Regions from separate parts of the Homo sapiens genome. Here regions 2, 3, 4, 5, 6 and 7 are each linked to region 1. Evidence: promoter capture Hi-C in human tissues and cell types (Jung and others, 2019). All regions are on one chromosome and are shown on one strand. The core of a region is centred on a gene start or on the middle of the fragment in contact, and the rest is flanking DNA. Distances in the headings are between cores, read along the strand shown.

The links. Contacts are between HindIII fragments. The study calls those that stand out against the background at their distance.
Region 2: a contact is called between a fragment that was not itself captured here and the fragment with the promoter of ENOX1 in region 1, in 2 of the 25 tissues and cell types used here (dorsolateral prefrontal cortex and mesenchymal stem cells).
Region 3: a contact is called between a fragment that was not itself captured here and the fragment with the promoter of ENOX1 in region 1, in 1 of the 25 tissues and cell types used here (lymphoblastoid cells).
Region 4: a fragment that was not itself captured here is called in contact with the fragment with the promoter of ENOX1 in region 1 in 3 of the 25 tissues and cell types used here (H1 embryonic stem cells, dorsolateral prefrontal cortex and hippocampus).
Region 5: a contact is called between a fragment that was not itself captured here and the fragment with the promoter of ENOX1 in region 1, in 3 of the 25 tissues and cell types used here (dorsolateral prefrontal cortex, lymphoblastoid cells and mesenchymal stem cells).
Region 6: a fragment that was not itself captured here is called in contact with the fragment with the promoter of ENOX1 in region 1 in 3 of the 25 tissues and cell types used here (dorsolateral prefrontal cortex, hippocampus and mesenchymal stem cells).
Region 7: a fragment that was not itself captured here is called in contact with the fragment with the promoter of ENOX1 in region 1 in 2 of the 25 tissues and cell types used here (heart left ventricle and stomach).

What each region holds. Positions count from the first base shown.
Region 1 is chr13:43,785,246-43,788,604 of GRCh38, forward strand. It overlaps ENOX1 (ecto-NOX disulfide-thiol exchanger 1), which reads right to left and starts at 1,727. Exons shown (of 17, transcript NM_001347969.2): 1 at 1,407-1,727. The HindIII fragment of the contact is 9,406 bases long and covers 1-3,359 here.
Region 2 is chr13:43,531,111-43,534,469 of GRCh38, forward strand. All of the region lies in intron 2 of ENOX1 (ecto-NOX disulfide-thiol exchanger 1), which reads right to left. Among named protein-coding and RNA genes, the nearest start is that of ENOX1-AS2, 84 kb to the left of the region's middle. The HindIII fragment of the contact is 6,928 bases long and covers 1-3,359 here.
Region 3 is chr13:43,550,260-43,553,618 of GRCh38, forward strand. All of the region lies in intron 2 of ENOX1 (ecto-NOX disulfide-thiol exchanger 1), which reads right to left. Among named protein-coding and RNA genes, the nearest start is that of ENOX1-AS2, 100 kb to the left of the region's middle. The HindIII fragment of the contact is 3,515 bases long and covers 1-3,250 here.
Region 4 is chr13:43,569,111-43,572,469 of GRCh38, forward strand. The region is part of intron 2 of ENOX1 (ecto-NOX disulfide-thiol exchanger 1); the gene reads right to left. Among named protein-coding and RNA genes, the nearest start is that of ENOX1-AS2, 120 kb to the left of the region's middle. The HindIII fragment of the contact is 4,751 bases long and covers 1-3,359 here.
Region 5 is chr13:43,585,728-43,589,086 of GRCh38, forward strand. All of the region lies in intron 2 of ENOX1 (ecto-NOX disulfide-thiol exchanger 1), which reads right to left. Among named protein-coding and RNA genes, the nearest start is that of ENOX1-AS2, 140 kb to the left of the region's middle. The HindIII fragment of the contact is 3,281 bases long and covers 126-3,359 here.
Region 6 is chr13:43,607,293-43,610,651 of GRCh38, forward strand. All of the region lies in intron 2 of ENOX1 (ecto-NOX disulfide-thiol exchanger 1), which reads right to left. Among named protein-coding and RNA genes, the nearest start is that of ENOX1-AS2, 160 kb to the left of the region's middle. The HindIII fragment of the contact is 4,739 bases long and covers 1-3,359 here.
Region 7 is chr13:43,646,517-43,649,875 of GRCh38, forward strand. The region is part of intron 2 of ENOX1 (ecto-NOX disulfide-thiol exchanger 1); the gene reads right to left. Among named protein-coding and RNA genes, the nearest start is that of ENOX1, 140 kb to the right of the region's middle. The HindIII fragment of the contact is 7,722 bases long and covers 1-3,359 here.

The DNA of each region.
Region 1 (3,359 bases), core at 477-2,976:
CCACTTTGCTTGACAGAGCCGTCTCCAACAGCACGCACCCACCTCTCGAGCGGGCCCACCAGCTCAGCTTTCCAAGCTCGCTCACCTGCGTCTCTCCTCCAGGAATCAATTTCCTTCCCACTTTCTCCACCCTCTTCAGATCCCTTAAGCACGCTTCATTGCTTTCTCCAAACTACCAGACTCAAATCTGCAGCCCAGTTGGCCAGGAACCTTTCCATACGCACGTATTTCCTGCATTCTCCTGGGTCTGCTTTTAAAAATTGCTACCACCAAACAAATGCAATCTTAACAAAATTGGGATTACAAAGCCAGTTTTTTTCATGTAATGTTACAGCAGTGAAAGATTGAGGGAGAGAAAAGGAGAGAAGCAGGAGTGTATCTGGGTGAAGAAGCGTGGCTCAGTGGCTATACAGTGAGACGCAGAGATTCCACAGAGCTGGGCTTGCCCACCTGTCGACCCCACTTTCCCCATGTGCTCGCCGCGGGATGACAACCACAACACTCCAGAACCACCCCCCTTCCGAAAGAGGGCGGGGTTACGCCTTCAGCCAATCAGGACCCGCGAGCCCCGGGTGTCCAACCTATGGGGTGGCTGTGGCCGTGCAGGGGGAGGACGTGGGGTGGTCTGGGAGGGGCCGCGTCCGTGGGAGGCTCGCACGTGTCGGGTCCGGAGAGGCGGGGAGGCGGCCGGCGTCCAGCGGCCGAGGCGCGGGCTCTGCACCCTGGCAGCGGCCGAGTCCGGCTGCCCCAGTGCCTCCTTTACCTCGCGTTGGGCCAGGCAGGGCGCGCTCCCGCCGACGAAGACCTGTCCAAGGTGTCCGAGCTCCCCGCGAGAGGGGACAGTCACGAATAACAACAGTACCCAGCGCAGACTAGGCGGGGAGGAAAGTTTCCGGCCCGCAGCAGAGCGGAGTCCGCCAAGGCTGGAGGAAAAGGGATGCAGAGCGGGAGGGTGAAAACCTGAAAGAAGAGGGCAGCGGGAACACTGTGTGGGCAGGAACGGGTCCCGGGGGCGACGCCCGCAGGGGGAGACGGGTGCGGGGTGCGCTGTCCAAGGTGCAGGGGAGGTGACTGGCGCGCGGCGGGCGCGGAGCCCGGAGCTGACACTGGCTGGCGGGCGGAGGGGAGAGCGGGGAACAGCTGTCTGGGGCGCTGGGCACCCCCGGGCGCGTAAAAGTGAGGGAGCTTGAGACGGGGCACGGCGGGGAAGGGCGTGGGGGCTGCACCGAAGCCCCCACGCGTCCACGCACCCCTCCTCACCAGCCTCACCTCTAGCTCCACTCCCCTCCCCCCTCGCCCACTCCCCTCTCAGTCTAGATCCAGGTGCCGTGGCGGGGGTGAGACCAGAGGACCCCGGCTCGGAGCCCGGACGCCCCAGGGAGGCTGCGGGCCCCGGAGCTGCTTACCTGGGGCCGCCGTATGGGGAGCGGAGGCAACCCGCTGCGCGGAGTGGGGCGCCGGGCGCGGCGCGGCTCCTCCTAGCCTCGGCGTCCTCCTCCTCCTTTGCTTCTCCCGGACTCTGTCCCGGGCACGGAGCTGGGAGACGCGGCCGGGCTGCAGTCGCCGTTCCCTCTGCTGCCGCCGCCGCTGCAGCAGACAGAGGACGCCCCGTGGCGGCTGGAAGCCTGTGTGAGTAGCGGCGCCCGGGAGAGCGGGGATCTGCTGAGGGGCGCTGGAGACTCCGCGGCTGGAGGCGCGCGGGCGTGCGCACGCGCGCCTGCGAGTGTGAGTGTATGGGTGCGCGCGCGCCCACGGGGTGGGGGAGTCGCGAGGGGAGGGGGAGAGAGGCCGAGAGATGCTCGTAGGGACCGAGGCAAAATTCTACGACCCCGGAAATCCGTAAACGCGGGGAAGGAGGATCGAACGCGTGTCTCGCTTGGAGAAGCTGCCCACGGGGCGGCAGCAGAGGAGGAGGGGAAGTCAGCGAGGCGCGCTAGGGCTCCGGATCCCAGCCCGGCAGAGCCGAGCGGAGCGCGCAGCCACCGATGCAGCAGAGGCGGCGCCCGCAGCCCACGGTCGCGCTGCCCCCTCTCGGGAGGGGCCGAGGCCGCTCGCTCCCGCCACCGCCGCCGCGGTCGGGACTGCTCTACTGGGAGCGGGGGAACCGAGAGAGGGACCGCACGGTTGCTACGGCGACCTTGGAGGGGCCGGGCCCGCTGAAGGGCCAAGAGAAGAACCCGGGCGCACGTGGCCGACTCCAGGCTGGAGCGGGCGTGTTACAGGATTGTGGGCTTGGGGTAGACGGTGGAATTGGGCCGCGTGGCCTGGGCAGATGATGCGGGGTGTGCGGCCCAGAGTGGCTCGGCCGGGGTGCGGTCAGCATTCAGGTTGGTAAGGGTGAGGGGATCCTAACCCCAGGTGACATGTTGCCTTTTTTTCCTCCTTGGAGGCTACTTTTTCTCAAAGTTACCCACTTCCCAGGTAAGAATGCCGGCCTCCTCTTTGTTAGGATTCAACTTAGCTGTGCAGGCATCTAAGCAGTGCCTCCTTAGAGTCAGGCTCGTCCAAGAACCGCTCCCACCACCTCCCCACACACACCCACATCCCCCGATCCTCCATCCCAACTACATTGTAATACTTCAGAAATAAATGTTTAAAGCACATTTACATTCTCTGCCTCTTAACAGATATATTGTCTTAGTAGTATACTTTTCCTTGCTTATTTTAAATTCTGAGTGGGATTTTATTCACACAAGCATTTCTTCAAGGGTCGTAAGGTCTGGGTAATACTTGAAATACCCTTTCTGGCAGGAATCCTCAATGCAGGGATTGTGTTTTGCACACTTTTGCATGCCTTCCAGTGCTTAGCATAGTACTCTGTACTTTGTGAGTTCCCTGTAAATGTTGAATGAATGACATTGTTTTCTAGCTTCACGTAACCTGAAGGCAAAGACTTGGATGCTGGGAAAGTCATTACCACCCCACTAGGCTTGCCTGATTTTAACTTATGCCATTTCCTTGTGTGTGGCTATTTTTCCCCCTGGCGGTCAGAACCCCAATGCAAAGAAAGAAAATAATACTTATCCATTGTGCACCCTTAACAAAGGATGCATGTAGAAGCACTCTGCAGGGACCCCAGTGGGATGCCCTGGGTGTGAGGGGGCCAAAGCTCAGAACCTAACCTCTCAAAATGTGAAAGTCAGTGTTCACCAGCAGTTTATACTGTCCCTTCTAGAGCAGAAGGATGGGGAAAACAGTTTTAAGAGAAATACACTTTTGTTTTTTGTTTTTTGAGACGGAACCTCGCTCTGTCACCCAGGCTGGAGTGCAGTGGCGCGATCTCGGCTCACTGCAACCTCTGCCTCCCGGGTTCAAGCGAATTCTCCTGCCTCAGCCTCCTAGTAGCTAGGATTACAGGC
Region 2 (3,359 bases), core at 598-3,097, 250 kb before region 1:
TTTACAAGAAGTAAAAATAGTATTATTAGGGTAACAGTACTGTAGGAGGTTTTATACTTTCCTTAAATTTTTAATTTAAAAAGTTTTAATCTACAATGAACTCAAACAAATTTACAAGAAAAAAACAAACAACCCCATTGAAAAGTGGGTGAAGGATATGAATAGACACTTCTCAAAAGAAGACATTTATGCAGCCAAAAACACATGAAAAAATGCTCATCATCACTGGCCATCAGAGAAATGCAAATCAAAACCACAATGAGACACCATCTCACACCAGTTAGAATGGTGATCATTAAAAAGTCAGGAAACAACAGGTGCTGGAGAGCATGTGGAGAAATAGGAACACTTTTACACTGTTGGTGGGACTGTAAACTAGTTCAACCATTGTGGAAGTCAGTGTGGCAATTCCTCAGGGATCTAGAACTAGAAATACCATTTGACCCAGCCATCCCATTACTGGGTATATACCCAAAGGATTATAAATCATGCTGCTATAAAGACACATGCACACATATGTTTATTGTGGCACTATTCACAATAGCAAAGACTTGGAACCAACCCAAATGTCCAACAACGATAGACTGGATTAAGAAAATGTGGCACATATACACCATGGAATACTATGCAGCCATAAAAAATGATGAGTTCATGTCCTTTGTAGGGACATGGATGAAGCTGGAAACCATCATTCTCAGCAAACTATCGCAAGGACAAAAAACCCAACACCGCATGTTCTCACTCATAGGTGGGAATTGAACAATGAGAACACACAGACACAAGAAGGGGAACATCACACACTGGGGCCTGTTGTGGGGTGAGGGGAGGGGGGAGGGATAGCATTAGGAGATATACCTAATGCTAAATGACGAGTTAATGGGTGCAGCACACCAACATTGCACATGTATACATATGTAGCAAACCTGCACGTTGTGCACATGTACCCTAAAACTTAAAGTATAATAAAATAAAATTTAAAAAAAGAAAGTTAAAAAAGTTTTAATTTTTAACATGTTAAAGACTGAATAAATAGCTCTGTTAAAATAAAGAAAAAGAAGAAAATAAAATGGTATTATTTTCTATCCAGTTTAACATTTTGGTATATACTTTTCCAGTTTTTCTCTTTATTATTCATATTTTTAATTTAAAATCTGTAACTCTTAAACTATAATGTTAATAACAATTCTGTTCCTTTGTCACTTAACAATGCACTGTGGACTTTTTTTACATTTTAAAATGTTCTTCTATGACAGTGGTTCTCAAAGTATGGTCCACAGAACCCTAGATGTCCCTGATAGATCCTTTTTTATGGTCTGGGAGGCTAAGTCTATTTTCATAATACTAAAATGTTTTTTGCCTTTTTTACTGTGTTGACATTTGCACCGATGGGGCAAAAGCAATGGTTGGTAAAACTGCTATAAGATTCAAAAGAAACAAGGCAGATTTTGATTGTTGATGTAGTATCAAAGAACAATATCCAAAGTTATCTGAAGAAATTATTAAAACACTCCTCTATTTACAACTACTTATATTTCTGAGGCTGGATTTTCTCCATTTTCCTCACTGAAGCATCGTAACAGGTTGAATAGTAATGCAGCTACGAGGATCCAAATGTCTTCCATCAAGCCAGAGTAAGACACTAAAAAGATCTGCAAAAATGTGAAAGGATACTAACCTTCTTGTTATATGTTTTGTTTTCAAAAATATATTTTTAAAGAGTATCTTATGTTAAACAATGTGTTTTATTTTTAAATGTGTAAATATATATACAAATATATTAAATATATATATTAAAATTTTCTATTTTCATTTCTAATACAGTATTGATGGATATAACCACATGAACAAAAGCTTTTTGAAGCCCCAAATAATTTTTACGAGTATTAAGAAGTACTGAGAAAAAGTCTGAGACGTGCAGTTTATAACAGCACTTTTACAGAAAGCACAGTGATCTTTTTCATGGACATGCCTTAATTTATTTAGCCCTGGAATATACATACATTTCTTGAAAACGAGGACTACTACGTAAATCCTAAAGGGCCTGGTGAGAAATGTGCACCCGGTGAGTAATGACCTGATTTTGGAGCCACAGTTCATGGTCATCATATCTTCCCCCAGGAGGAGGGCTGATTGAAGAAGAGGATCTAGGACTAGATAAAGCCCCCTCAGCTATGGGTGCCTACATTCATTCTCCTGCTGAGTTTTTTTCTCCCTTCTCAATATTTTGTGTCATTTTTCTAGGATTTCCACAGAAAAACACTGAAAGAAGTTGGAATACAATTTATTTCAATAAATCGAGTATTTTCCTTTAGCTCTCATGAAGTCTCTGATATATTTTTTCCATTTCTGATTGGCATTCTATCAGGTAGAGTCCTGGGTACATGAGTTTTGTCACCCAACTACCTTCCTGTCCTCACTACCTCTGAGTCCATCACTGGTGATGCACACGGCCCTTAATGACATGGCCCAGTTTATACGTTTTCTAACTCTAGACTTCTTAAATCAGATTACTTACACTAATTAATTTTTAAAATTAGTTTAGAAATTAAAAAACATCTGCCCAGAGTTTGAAAGCATACAAATTCTATAAAATGCCATTCTCTCATGCCTTATATTACTTAACAAATTAAATATATACAGAGTTAGCCTCATTAAACTCGAATGGTCTCTGGGAGACCTACCTAAGTAACTCTGAAGCAGACTATATTCCCTAAAATGTATTCTGAAGTACTGAGGAATTTTCATTGTTATGGAGGCGTTTGAGCACCCATTTTTTAGTAGGCCAGGATATCCTTGCCAGAATGCTAAAGAGAGTAGAACTAAATGACAGTACAGCCATGTAAGGTTCTCAAACTGTGAACATTGATGCTGTTTATTCCGTAATTTAGTGTAAAATGAGTGTGGGAATCTTTATTAGTGATTTTCAAGTGCAAAAGTTGAATTTGTCCTCCAAAAATTTGCACTGGCTTTTACTGTTGTAAACCAAGCCACAGCCTCCTTAATCCAACATACCCTTTCCGTTGTATGAGTCCAACCACAAACACACTTTAGATCCTCAAGAAATAATTTCTCAAGAAAACATAGTGGAGTAAGTAGCAACCCACTTGGGTCCTTAACCAGGCTCCTCTGGGCCTAGGATAACTGCACCTGGGCTACAGGCTTGTGTTCTGAAGAACAGGCTCAGTGTTGCTGGCAACTGCTGAGTTAAAATTTCCAACCACCACACTCCTCGTCCACAGCCCTGATGTCTACCCCTTTCCTCTCCCAGAATAGTTCAGTGATTTCCACACCAGGTACAGAGTCTGATCAGTTTCCAGGGATAATATTTTACCTTCTCTCACTCCTATGAAAAAAGGAAA
Region 3 (3,359 bases), core at 243-2,742, 240 kb before region 1:
AAAAGGTGAACTAATATTAATAAAGGGAAGGTAAACTAATATGAGCTGTGTGAGGCATGGTGCTGGGTATCCTACACACAGTTGGAGCCCCACAATATGCTATTGCTCATTCAACACGGTGTCTTCCTCCAGTGTCCATCAGCAGTTGGGTGTCATACTGGAGGGACAATGGGCTGTGAGGACTTCCCAAGAGATGGTATAAGTAGGGAGAGAACCACATTTGCTGTTCTTTATGAGAAATTAGGCACATGTCAAGAATAGTTTTGCCTACACATCTTTCTCATCTTCTACTTGACTGCAGATAAGGTATATCCAATCCTTGCTTGAGATAAGATGTGACTGCACTGCTCAGTGCCTCAGCTATCACAAAAACTCTGAGAGGGTTAAATTATTACTGGCCCAATTTATAGGTGAGAAAACAGTGCCTCAAAGGGGTTAAGTAATTTTCCCATGATAATGTGCTCAAAAACTACAAAAACTCTCCTCCTTACAAAGTTTCTAAGACTTATCTTCAGGGTATGTGGACATAGCAAAGAAGTTGTACTTTGTATTGAGTTAAAGAATCAATCATCTCTAGCCAATGAGCCTTTTGTGACATTACGATAGCAATTTAGATCAGCAGTTTACGTTATTAAGGAAAGGAGTTCGTATTACAAAACATGCTGCTTCTTAACTGTTTAAGAGTTTAGACCATAAGTAACCCATATTTAGAGAGCAAAACCCTGGTGTCATTGTGCTTTTTCCCAGTAACATCTTTCAAATATTATCATATCCAAGAGACAAGTATTTTTTTTAAGTAATTTTGCATAACTCTTAAAAAGATACACAATCCTAAACTTAACTTCACTGGGATTTTTAAAATAAAATAAAAATTACAGATGCTGTTTCAAGATATGCTTTCTCAAATACTTTTCCAAGTATAGCATACCTAACACAGAACATAGTTTACATTTGTCCATGGTGAGGCTTCAAAATGGAGCAATTAGATCAAGTTCAGGGGATAATTTATTTTCTAAAAATTATGTGGCCTTTCTTTTTAATTCTATTTATGTGATGTATCACATCTATTGACTTGTATATGTTAAATGATCCCTGCATCCCTGGGATGAAACCAATTTGATCACGATGTATTATCTTTTTGAGGTGCTGTTGACTCAAAAGTTGTTGGAAGAAAAAATAATAATAAAGAGAGAAAAAAATGAAAATTATGCAGAATATTTCTGCTTCAGGAAACTACTGACCCATTTTTTATCTTTTAAGATAAAAACATTTTTATACACCAAAAACTTTTATCTTAAAAGGTACATTATAATTTAGTCAAATCTGATAGTCATGGGCTTCATAAGCTGCAACAACTGATTATTACATTTGATAATACGATGACTGAAAAGCAAAAGAACATTTGGTATCTTAATATCAATTTAAATTTCACCCGATCATGATGGCAAAATTGCCCACAAAGCTGTTCTAGCTGTTCCTTACACCTTTCCTCTTCTACAGCACACTCAGCCAGTGCAGGAGAGGATGGGCCCAGCACAATTGTGTCCACACACCACCTCAGACAAGATGAGGTTATTTTGACTTAAAGGGTATGTGGTAAGCTTAATGAAATGATTTAAATAATCTTTACGCAGGCCTTAATTTTTTTCCATTTGCTTCTTTAGTTTAGAAAACACTGGTTTTATGAGGAGCTGGGTTTCGTTCTCAGCTTCTCTGTATTTTAATGTCCTGCTGGCCTGACCTGGTCTCTACCTGATACCCTGATGTCTGAGTCATCTCCAACCTCTCCAGGAAGAAGCAGGGACCTTTCGCCCTGTCACTCTGAGAGGTTTCTGATCTCTTACCAACCCTCTTTGAGAGCCCTGACTTAAGAAAAAAAATGCTTGAAAATAAAACACCGAAGTATTCATTGACAGTTTCAACTTCATTGTGGGAGACATTCTCTGATGTCATGAAAGGAGCATGCCAGGGAGGCCACCCATCAATTGATTTTTGAAATTCCTAGAAGCCATAGAAAAGGGCTCACCTCTGCTCTAGGAGATAAACAGTACTTCATAAGATATTTATTAACCTAGAGGCTCTTAACTAAAAAAAAAAAAAAAAAGAAAACAATGCAGCCTTTTAGTATATTCCTAGAACCCTCCTCATTCCCCTTTCATTCCTTAGCTTATTCCCTCCCTTCTTCTTTCTCATTTACACAGAATCTTAGGGTCAGAAGAAACCTTGCTGGTTAAATAATTTAGCTCTTCTGGCTATACATTCTCCTCCCTTTTTATTTCTCTGCATCTCCATGTCCCAGCTTGCTTCTCCTCTCCTCTCTGCAACTGTTCTTCCCCCTCTCATTTGTTCTGAAATTGCTGCTGCCTACATGGTAGGCACTCCTGGGTATACACAGTAGGACCAAAATAAGCCTGACATGAATGGTTTTGCCTGGGTCATTAACTGAGGTCCAGGACTGACTACCCAAAAAGAACTACCTAACCTTGTAGTCCTCTGCCTGTCTTAATACATGAAGGTAAGACTAGGCAATCAGTTATTTGTTGAGCTAATGAATGAACAAATGATTGCTTATCCAAGCAAATAGCATATCATTTTCTGTTAAAGTGAAAATACAGCCCTAGGAGAATTAGGGAGGAGCTTCACTGGTCACAGATATCTTATTACCAATTAATTTAAGGATATTGCTCCTTCCTAATAGAAGTAGTCATGATAAAAAATGGGAGTTTGTAATAATATTGAAGAGGAAGAGGAGGTAATTTTGGAACCTGGGATATTCTGTATGGGGAAATATGGGGAGTGGAGATGGGGGTTGGGAAATCTGAGCAGTCAGAGGCAACCTAGAGACACCACCGGTACCTAAAGACAGGTGTTAGGAGGCACCAGAAGTTGGGAATGGCACACAAAAACGAAATACAGCAGCAAAATTCAACATGAATACTATTATTTAATGTAGGTTTAGGTAGCTATTGTCATAACACCAATTCATATGTGCTGAATTGGGAAATCTTGCATTGAGCAGTCAATAAATAATAACTAAAGTTAATAGTGAATGTAGGACCATCACCATTTTGCTACTTTACTTCTCAAAACAAAACAAACGAGAAAAAAAATGCTATCCCATAAGACAGACTGGGCTTGACACTTGGTTGCTCTGACAACGAAGGCCCAAAGAAAAAGTTCCTGTTTTACTGGTGTCAAAGTACTCACCGCTTCTTTAAAACTGGCTCACTTAAATATATCTGCCTTATCCCTTTTTGATGTCATTTGTACGATTCACTTTTGCTTTGGTTTCTGGTTTTGCAAATTGTTAGTTCCTGCAGATAATGACAAGTAGAGGGATTAAAGGAAGTGCAGGATAA
Region 4 (3,359 bases), core at 534-3,033, 220 kb before region 1:
GAAATGCAGCCATCCGCTCACTTACCTTTTATCTGAAATACTTCAATAGCCCTTCCTCACCTCTTTCCAAGCTATACTGATATAAAAATGACCTTTCTAAATTGGATCATGGTTGCTTTTTCCATCCCTGGTTCCTTATTCTCATAAGGCTCTCTTAGGAAGCATATCACATAAGCATATAAAGATCACCTAGGGCAGACAGATAGATAGATAAATTAGACAGAGAGGTGAATGGATGGTAGGTAGGTAGGTAAGTAGAGATAGATAGATAGAACTAGGGCACTTTCATTAATCAATTTGCTGGTTATTCTCTGCATTCTGTTCCCTTGCATCAATACCTCAGACTCTTTGCTATGGCTCAGAGACCTATGTTCTCTTCTTGAAACCTTTGACTTCATTGTAGCTCACAGATTAAGATAAAAGAGACTCCCAGTGACACTCTCAGAAGAGGAAGGGTCCCCTGGCATTACTGCATGAAGAGGCAGATTGAGACGACAACTCATCCTTTATTAGAATCTTTTCCTTAGAATATAAAGGGCAAGCTCCTTAGTGGTTTAAAAAAAAAACTGTATTTCTCCATCTGGTCCCTGCTGTTTTGCTCAGCTTCATACAACCAATCATCATTCTCCAACAATGAGCCTTTTAAAGCTCCTTAACTACACCACGATGTTTCTAAAGTTCTGCTTCTCTTCACTGGTGTTTTTGCTTTTTTGTCTGCTTGACAAACTCTGACTTGGTTTTGAAAACCCAGTTCATAATCATCCCACACCACACCCTGGAAAAAGTTAATCATTCCCTTCTCTGGGTTAGCTCTGCACTGTTCCCATAAATATTTCTATAGTTGCACGAATCAGGTGCTTTGTTAGTTTAAATTAGTATCTGTGAACTGGTTGAGAGCAGGAACTTTGTCTTAATTTTCTGTTTTCTTAGCACCCAGCATAGTTTAGGACACATTCAATATAACTGAGGATACCTTTAAGATTTTCCATTAGGGAGAAAAAGGGAATAGTGATAATATTATCCAAGAAAGGAAAATGAAAAACAGGAGCAGACTGCATTGTGAGATGCCATTTGTTTCATTTGGAGATAGTCACGTTTCAAAGTCCCAGTTAGATGTACCACAGAAGAAATTAGAGGGTTTGGGAAATCTGGGCTTAGAGTTAGGAAAGGGGTTTGGAGCTGAAGATGGTCATCTGAGAGTCAGCAACACATAGGCAGTAGCGGAAGCCATAGATGCACATAGAAATGAAAAACTAGAAAAAGTGGCAAGAACCCTGTAGTTCACTAAAAATTTGGCCCCAAATTTAGGAGCCAATGAAGAACATGTGGATAGATGAAGACTGGGAAGAATGATAAGGAAGAACCTGGAGGACCTCAGAGGCCAAGGACATTAAAATTTCAAATAAGAAGGGGTATCGATCATGTTAGCATCTCATAATGGTTAAGTGGGATGAAAGCTAAACAGATGAGATGAATTTTCTAATATGAAGAAAGGGGTGTGCAGGGCAAAGCACGACATCGAGAGCAATTTCAGTGGAGGCAAAAGCCCGGGATAGAACAAACTGCAGTCAGTCAGAGTGAATGAGTGCCTTTCATCCAGACTCATTACAGAAACTGTGGCTTAAGCAAGAAGCCCTCAGTGGCCATCTGGGTGAGAAGTGGAGGGGAAGAGGGATGGAAAGGTGTGGTGAGAAGGAATCAGCTAATGGGCAAAGCAGGAAGGATTCTACTGTTTGCACGACAACATTTTACATATTGTATATTTTAGGCAAGATGTCCCTAGGCAAATGGTTCCATAATCCCTTTTGTTGATAAATGCCTATTCCCTCATTTCTCATGTTTCTATAAAGGGGAAAGAACATCAACTCCACCAGAAGATACAGTCTCTGGCTTCTCATTCACTTCTTCTTGGGAAGGAATAATTTATCTGATTTTTGAGTTTGGGAGAAGAAATTGAACATGACTAGCTCATTATCTTCCTCCCTTAAATTCATAAAAGGCACAGAATCTCCTATTCTGTTATGCTTTAAGCAGCCTGCCACAGCAGAGGAGGATGACGGCTGTCTACCAATGCCTGTAACTGGGGGCTCAGTTTACATAGAAGGGAGTTGTATTAAGTCCAAGTGGTCACAGATGTAAGTCACATTCTCCAATTCGGTCATGCTGGTAATAAAGCTTATGGTATACACTCCATCTGTCTCACTCTCATGTTTGCTTCTCAACTAGATGTGAACTCAAGGTGGGAATCGGGTGCTTAATTATTATTGCCTTAAAACCTTAAAAGTAGGCCGGGCGCGGTGGCTTACGCCTGTAATCCCAGCACTTTGGGAGGCCGAGGTGGGTGGATCACCTGAGGTCAGGAGTTTGAGACCAGCCTGCCAACATGGAGAAACCCCACCTCTACTAAAAAAGAAAAAAAAAAATACAAAATTAGCCGGGCGTGGTAGTGCATGCCTGTAATCCCAGCTACTTGGGAGGCTGAGGCAGGAGAATCGCTTGAACCCTGGAGGCAGAGGTTGAAGTGAGCTGAGATTGTGCCAGTGCACTCCAGCCTGGGCAACAAGAATGAAACTCTGTCTCAAAAAACAAACAAACAAACAAACAAAAATCAAACCTTAAAATTACACTTCAAGGAGGTTGTTTAAAAATAGAGAAATATAAGACCTCCAATTCCTCATCTGTGAGGTGAAGGGGCTGAAGTGGATAATCTTTAAGTCCTTCCCAGCAATCTCTACACGTCTGTTTGCTATTGTGTGTGTGTATATATCAGACAAGCGGTGGGGCGGTGGGGGTGGTGCATGCGCAAGGAGTCAGACAATCTTAGGTAAAAGGAAGGGAGGATTCAAAGCAGGAGCAGGCAGTCACCGGGGTAGTGAGCAGAAAGGTCTCCTAGGCTGAAGAAAAATTAAGAGATTAGAGGGCAACTTACTTATGAAGAGCATTTTCTGAGACAAAAATGAAGGTTGCTATATATAAACAAAAATATATATATACACATACATATACATTATAATACATAGAGATAAACAAAAAGCAAAATACTGAATCAGGCTGGAAAAAAATTCTCCCCAATTCACCAGCCCTTCCATGCTCACATAAACCCCTTCCCTCATTAGATTATAAGATTTTGTACCTTTGCACCTAAATTTTCCAAGAGAAAAAATGAATAGGCCACAAAATGCCTAAAAGCAAATGCTAGGAATTGTTTGGCTCAAATAACAAAACAGAGACCCTTAACTAAGCTGAGGACAGTGGAATATTATTTTGCCTTCTTGCCTGTTGGAAGCACTAAGAAGACATTTCCAATTCCAACGTTCCATAGACCAAAAGGCTTAGGTGAAGAGGGTTTCCAGGCTCAC
Region 5 (3,359 bases), core at 516-3,015, 200 kb before region 1:
CCACCACGCCCCATTAATTTTTTGTATTTTTAGTAGAGACAGGGTTTCACTATGTTGGCCAGGCTGGTCTCGAACTCCTGACCTCATGATCCGCCCACGTTGGCCTCCCAAAGTGCTGGGATTACAGGCGTGAGCCACTGCACCTGGCCAAGTTTTGTTTTATTTTTATTAACAAACTAATAACAATTGTTTATATTTATGGGTTACAATGTGATGTTTTGATACATGTATACATTGTGAAATGATCAAATCAGGCTAATTAGAATATGTATCATCTGAAATATTTATCATTTCTTTACGGTGAGAATGTGTAAAAGCCTATCTTTTCCTAAAGCGTCTATGTTCCATCCATCTTTCCTTGTCTCCACAGCTACTCTCTGAGAGAAAACTTCAGCCTGTGGCTCCTTACTGTTCTCCCTACGTCTGCTCAGGCCACTCCCTTCGCCAACCCCAAGCTGGGCAGGCCATTCACCAAACTGCCCCAGAGGGTCTTTCTAAGACATAAATCTGAAATATCTCAAGACAAATGGCTTGCCATTGACAGCAGAATGAAAATCACCTTTCTTTACCTGATAAAATATCTTTCACAGTTTGACACCTACCTAGGCATCCAACTGTAATGTCTGCTTCCTGGTCAAACTTGCTGCTTGACCAGCATGACATTCATACCTGGTGCTTCAACATGACTCTGTGCCTTTGTCTGCTGTTCTCTCACTGCTCCTCTAACTGACAAACCCCTAAATATCTTTCAGTACTAAACCAACTGTGTTGGCGGGCTCTTGACAGTGAGCTCCTTGAGGGCTGGGACCTCTCTTCATCTCTTTGTCTGCAGTGGCTAGCTGAGGCCTCCCTCTGAATGAAGAGGAGGGGGCAAGACTTCCTTTCTCATAACCGCTAGCCTACCTTCTTTCCTGCCACATTAGCTTACTTTTACTTTCAGCTCATATTTGGCTTTGGAATTACTTTCAGAATTAGCAGTTGATACCCGCCCAGTCAGACACCATGTCCTCACACTCCTGTGTTTTCAGTGAGCAGGTGCAAGATTTAAGAAATAGTAAAAGAGGCGGTGGCTCACGCCTGTAATCCCAGCACTTTGGGAGGCTGAGGCAGGTGGATCACGAGATCAGGAGATCGAGACCCTCCTGGACAACATGGTGAAACCCTGTCTCTACTAAAAATACAAAAAAAAAAAAAAATTTAGCTGGGCGTGGTGGCACGTGCCTGTAATTCCAGCTACTCAGGAGGCTGAGGCAGGAGAATCACTTGAACCAGGGAGTTGGAGGTTGCAGCAAGCCAAGATTGTGCCACTGCACTCCAGTCTGGCGACAGAGCGAGACTATCTCAGAAAAAAAAAAAAAAAAGAAATAGTAAAAGAACAATCAGCTCTGATATCCTGGCCACTTCATCTAATGCTAAGACCTTCATTTTAAAAGATAGATTTAGGGTAAGAAGCACTTGTCAGTCTCAATTTTGCTCCAGATGAGGACCCACGCAAAACTACTTCTATGCTTTCCTTTCTTGGTTATAAAGAATTCCACTTTCTTTCAATTTTCAGCATAGATAAGTTTTTTACTTTCAAATCATCCATTACTTTTCTCTGGCCCATCTCCAATTTCCTAATATTGTGTTTAAAATATGGAGCTCAAAATTAGGCTCTAACATAGACCTTATCAATGGTGAACACAGTGAGTAAATTTCATGGTTCTTGTGTACTACATACATTCTGGTTAATGCAATCCCAGATCATGTTCACCTTCTTGATAACAGCCCTATATTGCTGACACATATCCCTGACAGGTGAGAATGGCTTTTTACCTATAGAGTACTTACATGTCAATTCCAATCTTTATGATGGCTAGGATAGTCTATCAGTATATTTTTTCTGGAATAATAAAAACATCACCTATTGCAAAGAGCTGTCTAATGCACTGACAGTATAGCTCATCTTGACTTGATGTTCCACTTCATAATTGGAACCATTAGACTGAAATCAGAGCTTCTGAAAATTCTCTGAGTTTTATTTTTAAACATGTTATATATTTATGTGGGTACATAACAATTTCATTCAAAGTAAAAATAAATACAGTTATTCTTCAACTATTAGTTGATACAACTTCACTTTAGAAGCCATAAATATCAGAAACAATGATTTAGATAAACCATGTGGAAATAGTTTTAGGAGGTATCCTCCAATTCCATTTATGGAATTCTCTTTGCATTTTCCAAAAAAAAAAATCTATAACAGGAAAGACAGTTGAAGGCAGAGACTGCATTTTAAGTTATCTGCCTTTCTAACAAAGCAATGGAAAGGGAGACCCAAATTATGCTTCTGAAGTGAAACGGGATAAGCTTAGCAAAAAATTTCATCTCTAATTAACTCCTTAAAAAATTTCAGTCCAGATTAAGTATATTTCTGTTAATTAACATATATAGTTAATTTCATTTTCTCATATTGACCTAGTAAAATTAAAGCATACAAATACATCTAAAATTTTTTGACATACTTTCATGACAGATTGAACATTATCTTATTAAAGCAAAATGTATAGATAAGTGCTTTGGAGTGAAAACATCTGGATCATAGTCTTAGTGCATTCAATCACTATAAGATCAAAAAAGTCACATTACTCTTTAAGATCTCCATTTCTTTTACATGATAATGACAATCAGTAATCGTCATAACGCTTACAACAATCTACTTTTTCCCTCTGATGTGAGTGTGGCTGAGAAATCCATATAACCCTTAAAAAAATAATGAATAAGATTAAAATACAACCCTGTAATGTGGACCAGTATGATCTCTAAAATACAATCTGACACTTCAATATAGGGAAGTTGAGGTTGGAATTTGAAGTTGAAAGTCCTACTGGAGCCTCATTCCCATACCTCCTAGACATATGGCCTCTGAGCCGTGGTTTCCTCATTACTGTGTCAGATAGACTACACTAGTTTCAAGTTTTTGTTCTTGGAGGTGAAATTCTGCTCAGATCCTCAATAAACAAATGATGAAAACAGGGCTGCTCTGGTGATGCCAATGTGGCAGATGTGGGGCACTTCGCATCCTAACCCTTCATTCTATGGCCCCAGCAAAAGTTGCATGGAACAAAATTTTAAAACCAATGGAAGCGATTTAGATATGATTGTTTTCAATTATCAAGTCTTGGTGTCTCTTAACCATATGCACTTGCCAGAGGTGGGGTGAGGGAGAAGTGGTATTTTAATGGCAAAGAGCACTGGTACAGATTTGGACTTCTAATCCTTGGTAGGCTAAATATTCAGGAAAGCTCTCCTTTCATAAAACATTTGCATGATGGATAAACAGCTAACTTACAGATAAACACATTGCTGAGCTCTCCAGA
Region 6 (3,359 bases), core at 416-2,915, 180 kb before region 1:
GTGTGCATACAGAGTTTGTGCTTATTGTGCATAGAGTTTCCTTCTTTATTAATGAAGCTTTCTGTTTTTCCTTTCTTTAGAGTTATCAATATACCCTAAGTAATTTATTTGTAACCGCATAGTTTGTTGGTAAAAAGTTCCCTACAATTTTCCTTATTTTCAAATATTACCAATGGCAGTAAGTTAACACATTCATGGGAGCAAAGCTACAAAAATGTTAAGTCTGGCCATATAGAAAACCCTGGCTTGATGTGTGTTTAGTGCTTAAAAATCCCCAAATATATGAGATACATTATTACATATCATCTGACCAACAATTTTGTAGAGCAAATATTGCAAATCCTGAATATTATAATACTCATTATATGCATGTAGATAAGTATAAAAACTGAAGCTCACAGAGGTTACTGCTCACCAATTAGGGCAAGTACAGTTGCTGAAGTCCCAGCCTGCAGACTCAAGACCCTACTGCTCTTTCTAATGCATGATGCTGATTCTCTTGAAGGTAAGTTTGGAATCTTCAGAGGTATGTGTTAGGCATGGGTAGATATAAGGATTCTCTGATAAAACCTCTGGTAGAGACATCCTGTGAAATGTCTGTGGTCTTTGTCTCTGGGTAATATCTGTCTAATCCTCTCTTGAGCTCAGGGAGTTGCAATGGCTTAAGGCTGGAAGCACCAAGTCACTGAGCAGAGAAACATCCAGGAACAGGCATGCATGTATGATGCAGAATGGCTGGGAATCATTCCATCATGTGACACCACTTTACGATATCTTCCTTTGTTATGTGTTCCTGAAAAATACTTTAGAAACATATCCTCTTCACTAAAGACATTTCAGTAATTGACTCCTTAATTCAATAAATGAAAGCATCATTATTTTGAGGTCTAAGAATGGGTACGAGCATGGGGAGGGCAAAGTGTCATTTCTGGTTGAATTTCCTGAGAATAAGAACACCGGACTTTAAACAATATGATATGACTTTTTCCCCGAAACTGAAGTTATTTCTATCCTATTTAATGTCACATATATTTTAACTATTATGTAAAAAACATTGTGTTAGATGTCAAAGGATATAAAGATGACTGAGATCATTTCTTCCCTCAAGGAATCGCCAATCCAATGAAAAGATGAAACTCATCTTTCTAGAATACATTTTCCCGTGTTTATCTTTGAAAGAGTACACTGAATATTATACAACTTCTTCTTGATGACTGAGGGACATCATTCCAAGCCAGCTGATGTTCTGGGCCACAACAATAAGCACAGCTGCAGCTAGAAATGAGTGTGACAGGAGCTCAGGGCTACTGGTCATAGGAGTTAACCAAGAACTGCCTTCTGCCATCTCAAATTGGGTGGATGAGGGGCTGGATAGATAACAGATATAAATACCCTGATGTCATGATTGCTTTTTGGTCTTTTCCCTTTTTCCTCCCATCCTATATATGAACCAAAGACCTGCTTCATGACTAATGTGCTTTGAACCAGCACAAAACCGCCATTAGCCATCAGTGAGGTATACAGGTAGCAACAGCTGAAGACCTTTCCTGTCGGGCACCCTGCAGAGTGTCCAGGTCTGACCTAAATGTTACTCCTTATTGCTGGGCCTCCTCTAACGTCAGTGTCAGCTACCCACCTCCTTTCATCACTTGAATTTCTAAACCAACTGGCATCACCCCTTCTAAGCTCTGCCAGTTATTCTGCTATTCAGAACTCTCCGTTCTCAAATTACAATGTGTATAAAATGTCCAGCACAGTGCCTGACACAGAGCAGGCACTCAGTAAGTGCTAGAGCCCCTTTCCTTGTATTTTATAGTCTAATCTTTGATCTGACATTTTTCCTGTCTCTGTGTCTTTTTACGATCAGGTGGATATACATAGGTACTTCTTTATGGTTAGCAAACCAAAAAATCACAATCCATTACTTTCTATTTGTATGTATCTGTGAATGAAGCTTTTTTTCCTTTTACCCCTGCATAAGATACTTCTTAGGTTATCTACACCTTAATAACTCATTTGCAACTGTATAGATAGCTTAAAGGTTCTTTTTTATTTTCATAAATTTTCTCCACCCAGTGGTTATAATTTAATAAAGTAGTCACTGTGGCTGTATTTATATTTTGTAAGTAATTTATGTTTTGGTACAATGAATAATTCTGGATGTGAGTTATGTGACTGTGAATATACAGTTTGAGCTTTCTAGAATCTCTTCACTACCATTCTGATGCTGCCTCCTCTCATCTAATGACAACAACCTCATAGAAGAGATAAAAGTCTAAGATTCAAATCTAAAAGGCAAAGCAATTATAAAGTATAGCACATGTAGCATCTAATTATTTTTCCACATATAATGTCACACATGCAATTGGAAAAATGTTCTTTTGTTATTTGTAACATAAACCATGTCATTTTATTTTATTTTCACTTCCTTGCAGACTCTCATTAAAGCTTGCACACATATTATTATTCCATTGAAAAGTAATAACTTCATTATTATGGCATAACAATTAATGTAAGGTGTATCAACACAAATATTTAAAAGGACCATTACAAAAGTAAGAAAAACATTAATCTACTACTAGGGACTTACTTCATTCATGTAAGAAATTTTTCCATCTTCTGTCCATCTGGAGAAGAGCAAGATAAATTAATCTTTGGTTCCAAACATTTTTAGAGTTGTTTTATCAGGAAATAACTTCCTATTTTCCCAAGTTTTGAAATTTTGCACCTTCTCATAAGTATAAAAGAATCTCAGCATTTCACTTTGACCCATTTCAAATTTATATGGCAGATTTCCAAATGCTGGGAATTGCAAAGTGCCTGTTCTTAGCACATGATATCTACCATCTGCCCTGGCCATCAGGATAGGGTCCAGATAGTTCTCCAACATAATATTGTAAAGTCAAAGTGCTCTTGGCATTTATGTAATATTTTTGCAACATTTTGCAGGTGATAAATAAATTGTAACTTTTTCAAACTGGGACTCATCTAATTACATGCATGGGAGCACTTTTCTTGTGCTGTGTATTCAACTGTGTATGCTTGTACCTGCTCATTCATCCTCCACACCCACCCCACACAATCTGTCCAACTGAGATTTGATCATGTGAATGCTGAGAAAGGCTAAAGGTTTGGTACCCATTCAAAATGATATTTTTAAAGTACTTATTCAACATTTATTAGATGGAGTTGGGGAAAACTTATTTTCCATTAAGAAAAGTATGTCTCTCTTTATGCTTAGTTAACGAACAGGATTAGTTCACGCACTAAATGAACATATCACTTTTATTTGGGTCAGTCTTTCATTTCACAATTTTGTGGTTTCTCATTAAGGGACAGCATTAGTTATTCATATTCAG
Region 7 (3,359 bases), core at 353-2,852, 140 kb before region 1:
GAAGTGAAGACAAGCGCAGGAGTCTTTTCCTTCTGGTGGCCACTGTTGGGTTATTAGAATCGTCATCTGTACACCAAAGACAAGCTATCCTTCTCATGCGCTGATTGATTACATGCTGTCACAGGCTAACCTGTAAATCCCTGTCATCAATCACCCTCTCTCACAGAGGATATGGGAAGATTTCATGTCTCAATCATGCTCTCCAGTTTACCCCAGGGTGACAAAAGCCAGATAGAGTCTTGGGGCACTGAGGTGATCATACTCACTTTCCCTTCTCGCCTCATCATTTAGATGGATACAACACTAGATAGTAACGGGCAACGTTTACAGAGCACGTCTCAATAATCGTTTTATCCTTCTCCCACACTAGAGATGCAGACAAGCAAAATTTCTATTTTCTCTTCACAGAGGCTCAATGAATTGAAGTGGCTTGATCCAGGCCCAGATCTGGTAACCAAGGAAGCAGAAGCTTCTTACCATTCCATGTTCTCTCTACTTCACAAAACCAAGGAGGCCAATAGATGGTCTCAGCACCCATTCTGGCCCTCTCAGAGGCGTCTTTGGCTACTCTCTAATGGACCTTGTAAGGGGCAGGGAAGTGCAGTGGTTAGGGAACACAGTCAAGAGCTAGATTGCCTGAGATTTTAAATCCTGTCTCATTCACTCATTAGCCAGTCACTCCTGGCTCAGTCACTTAGGCAATTTATTTAACCTTTGTGTGCCTTAGTGTCATCATGTGTAAAATGGGGATAATAATAGTGCTTCTATTGTAGGATTATTATAAAGATTGAATAAAATAAATAAACTACTGTATCTGACACCACCATTGCTACCACTACAACTGCTTTGAGTCCCTTTTAGACACACTGATCCCTTTCTGGTTAGAAGCCCAATTTCTGATTGTCAGGCTTGGTTAGGAATTCAGGTGAACTTCCCCAGGGTCTCCATATCCAACCCTGCAAAACAGCAATCTAGGCTCACTCTGCCATCAGGAACCAAATTATCAAGAAGAATGTGACAAGTTCCACAAATATTTCTTGTGGAATGAATAAATGACTTAGGAAGACTCTCTGTTCTGCAATATACATTCTGGAAGAGAAATGAGGCTTTGGGCTTGACTATCCCTATACCCCCTTTGTGAATAAATCCATGTGACAGGCAGAATGATGACTACCACCAAACCCCCAAAGATGTCCAGCGTCTATTTCCTGGAACCCATGAATATGTTACCTTATATGGCAAAATAGATTTTGCAGATGTGATTATGATTAATGGCCTGGAGATGGGAGATTATCCTGTATTTTCCAAGTAAACTCAATCTAATCACATCAGTCCTTAAAAACGAAGAACCTTTTTCAGCTGTAGAGAACCAGACAGATGGCAGAATGAGAAGGTCTCGACCCACCATTGCTGGCTTTGAAGACAGAAAGGCATCACAACCAAGGAATGTGTGTGACCTGTAGAAAATGGAAAAGGCAAGAGCATGGATCTCCCCCAAAGTCTTCAGCCATGCTGACACTTTGATTTGAGCCCAGTGAGAACTGTGTTGGACTTCCGACCTGCAGAACTGTTAAGACTATACATCTGTGTTGTTCAAGCCACTGGGTTTGTGGTAATTTATTAGGGCAACAATAGAATCTCTGGATTCTTCCACTAGGGAAAGATCATAACCCAGTACTGGGACTATTCTGTAGGGTTAAGCAACAGGAAAGCATGTATTTACTCACCAATTCATTCATTGATTCATCTTTTTTATTCATATTGAGCACCTACCACAGCCCAGACACTGTTCTTTGGGCTACAGAAAACAACAGTGAACCAGAGAGCCATGGTCAGCTTCTGCAACCACGCAGCTTACAACTCAAAGCTGACAGATAGAGATTAAGCAGCCAATTAATAAATTAGATAACTGCAAACAGTAGAAAGTGCTGTGAAGAAAATAAAATAAGATGATGAGATAGAGAACACAGAGGGCAGAGCTGGGGAAACAGAAACCCCAGATTTGGGTGGATGGAAGGCTAAGAAATGACATTTGCCAGCTAAGCAAAGGTCCAAGAGAGTTCATAAGCCACTAACTCGTGGCTGACCTAGCCTTCTTATGGATGCTGTAAGAGGTGAAATACCTGTTTTTGAGAAATTGATATGACTTCTCACTCCAAGGAAAAGTGTGCTGTGTGAATTGCTACTCTAATTTTCCTGTCTCCACTCTTCACAAGCATGACTTTTAAGGCTTTATTTTTACCATATTTTATGAACAGTGTAAAGGCAGCATTATCCCAGAGTCCCTGCATATCATTTTCAGTGAGAGTACTCAGCGTTCTCCTTATCTGAATATGGATGTGGTTAGACTCCCTGTGACGGCTACATTGCTGTTACTGTGATAGATTTCCCTGTGCTGGCTGCAACCTGTATCAGCGACACTGGCTCTGAAACCAAATGCATTGCTCAGGGTTAGACCCAGACACAGTGCTAGAGCCTACGCAGACCACAGCTGTCTCTACTGCACATTTAGTTATGACAAAAATGTCAAAGCGTGAAGGTGGCAAATAAAGTGTCATATCATGTAGGAATGATGGTCTCTGATATCCAAATCATACACACACAAAACAGGCCACTCAATTCATTTATTGTAATGTCTTGCTCTAATATCTATGGGAAAATAGTACAAACAACTTCAATTTTTATTCAGGTTGTCATAGTGTCAATAATTACATCTCATAATTACCCCTTTCATAGGTTGTCTATAAAAGTAAAACTAGAACATCCAAGTAATCTGTCTCAACCCAGAGTTCCCAGACACACGCAAACAATGCAGGGCAACGCAAATTACCTTCACACCCTGGTTAGTTTGTTCTACAGATGCCTTACTGTGTGAGAAGGGGCTAAGCTGAGGCATAAAATGAATCCAATTCTGAAGCTACTCTAACCATTTCTAGTGTTGTATATGTTAATATAATGAACTTACAAATAAACAATATCTAGTAAGATGGCTTTTGTGTTGGGGGTGAGAGGTGCAGAGTTCACACTTTGATAATTCACTGATTCCAAGAATGGTGCTCAGGTTTTAGAGCCAGAGTATCTAGATTTGATTTCCAACTTCATCATATAATAACTCTATGACCTTGAAGAAGACATTTCCCTGACATAGCATCAATCCATTTTTTCTCTATGAATTGAGGTCAAAAGTAGCACACACACTGCCTGGTTCAGAGGGTTCTCACAAAATGAGAAAGACTTTGTAAACTATAGAACACAAGTGCAAACCAAAAGTCCCTTGGCCTCCTAGCGCTACAGATATGTTGTATTTAAGGCAACAGCCTAAGTCCCAATCCTCTGAGCTCCAAGCATGGACTAACAAG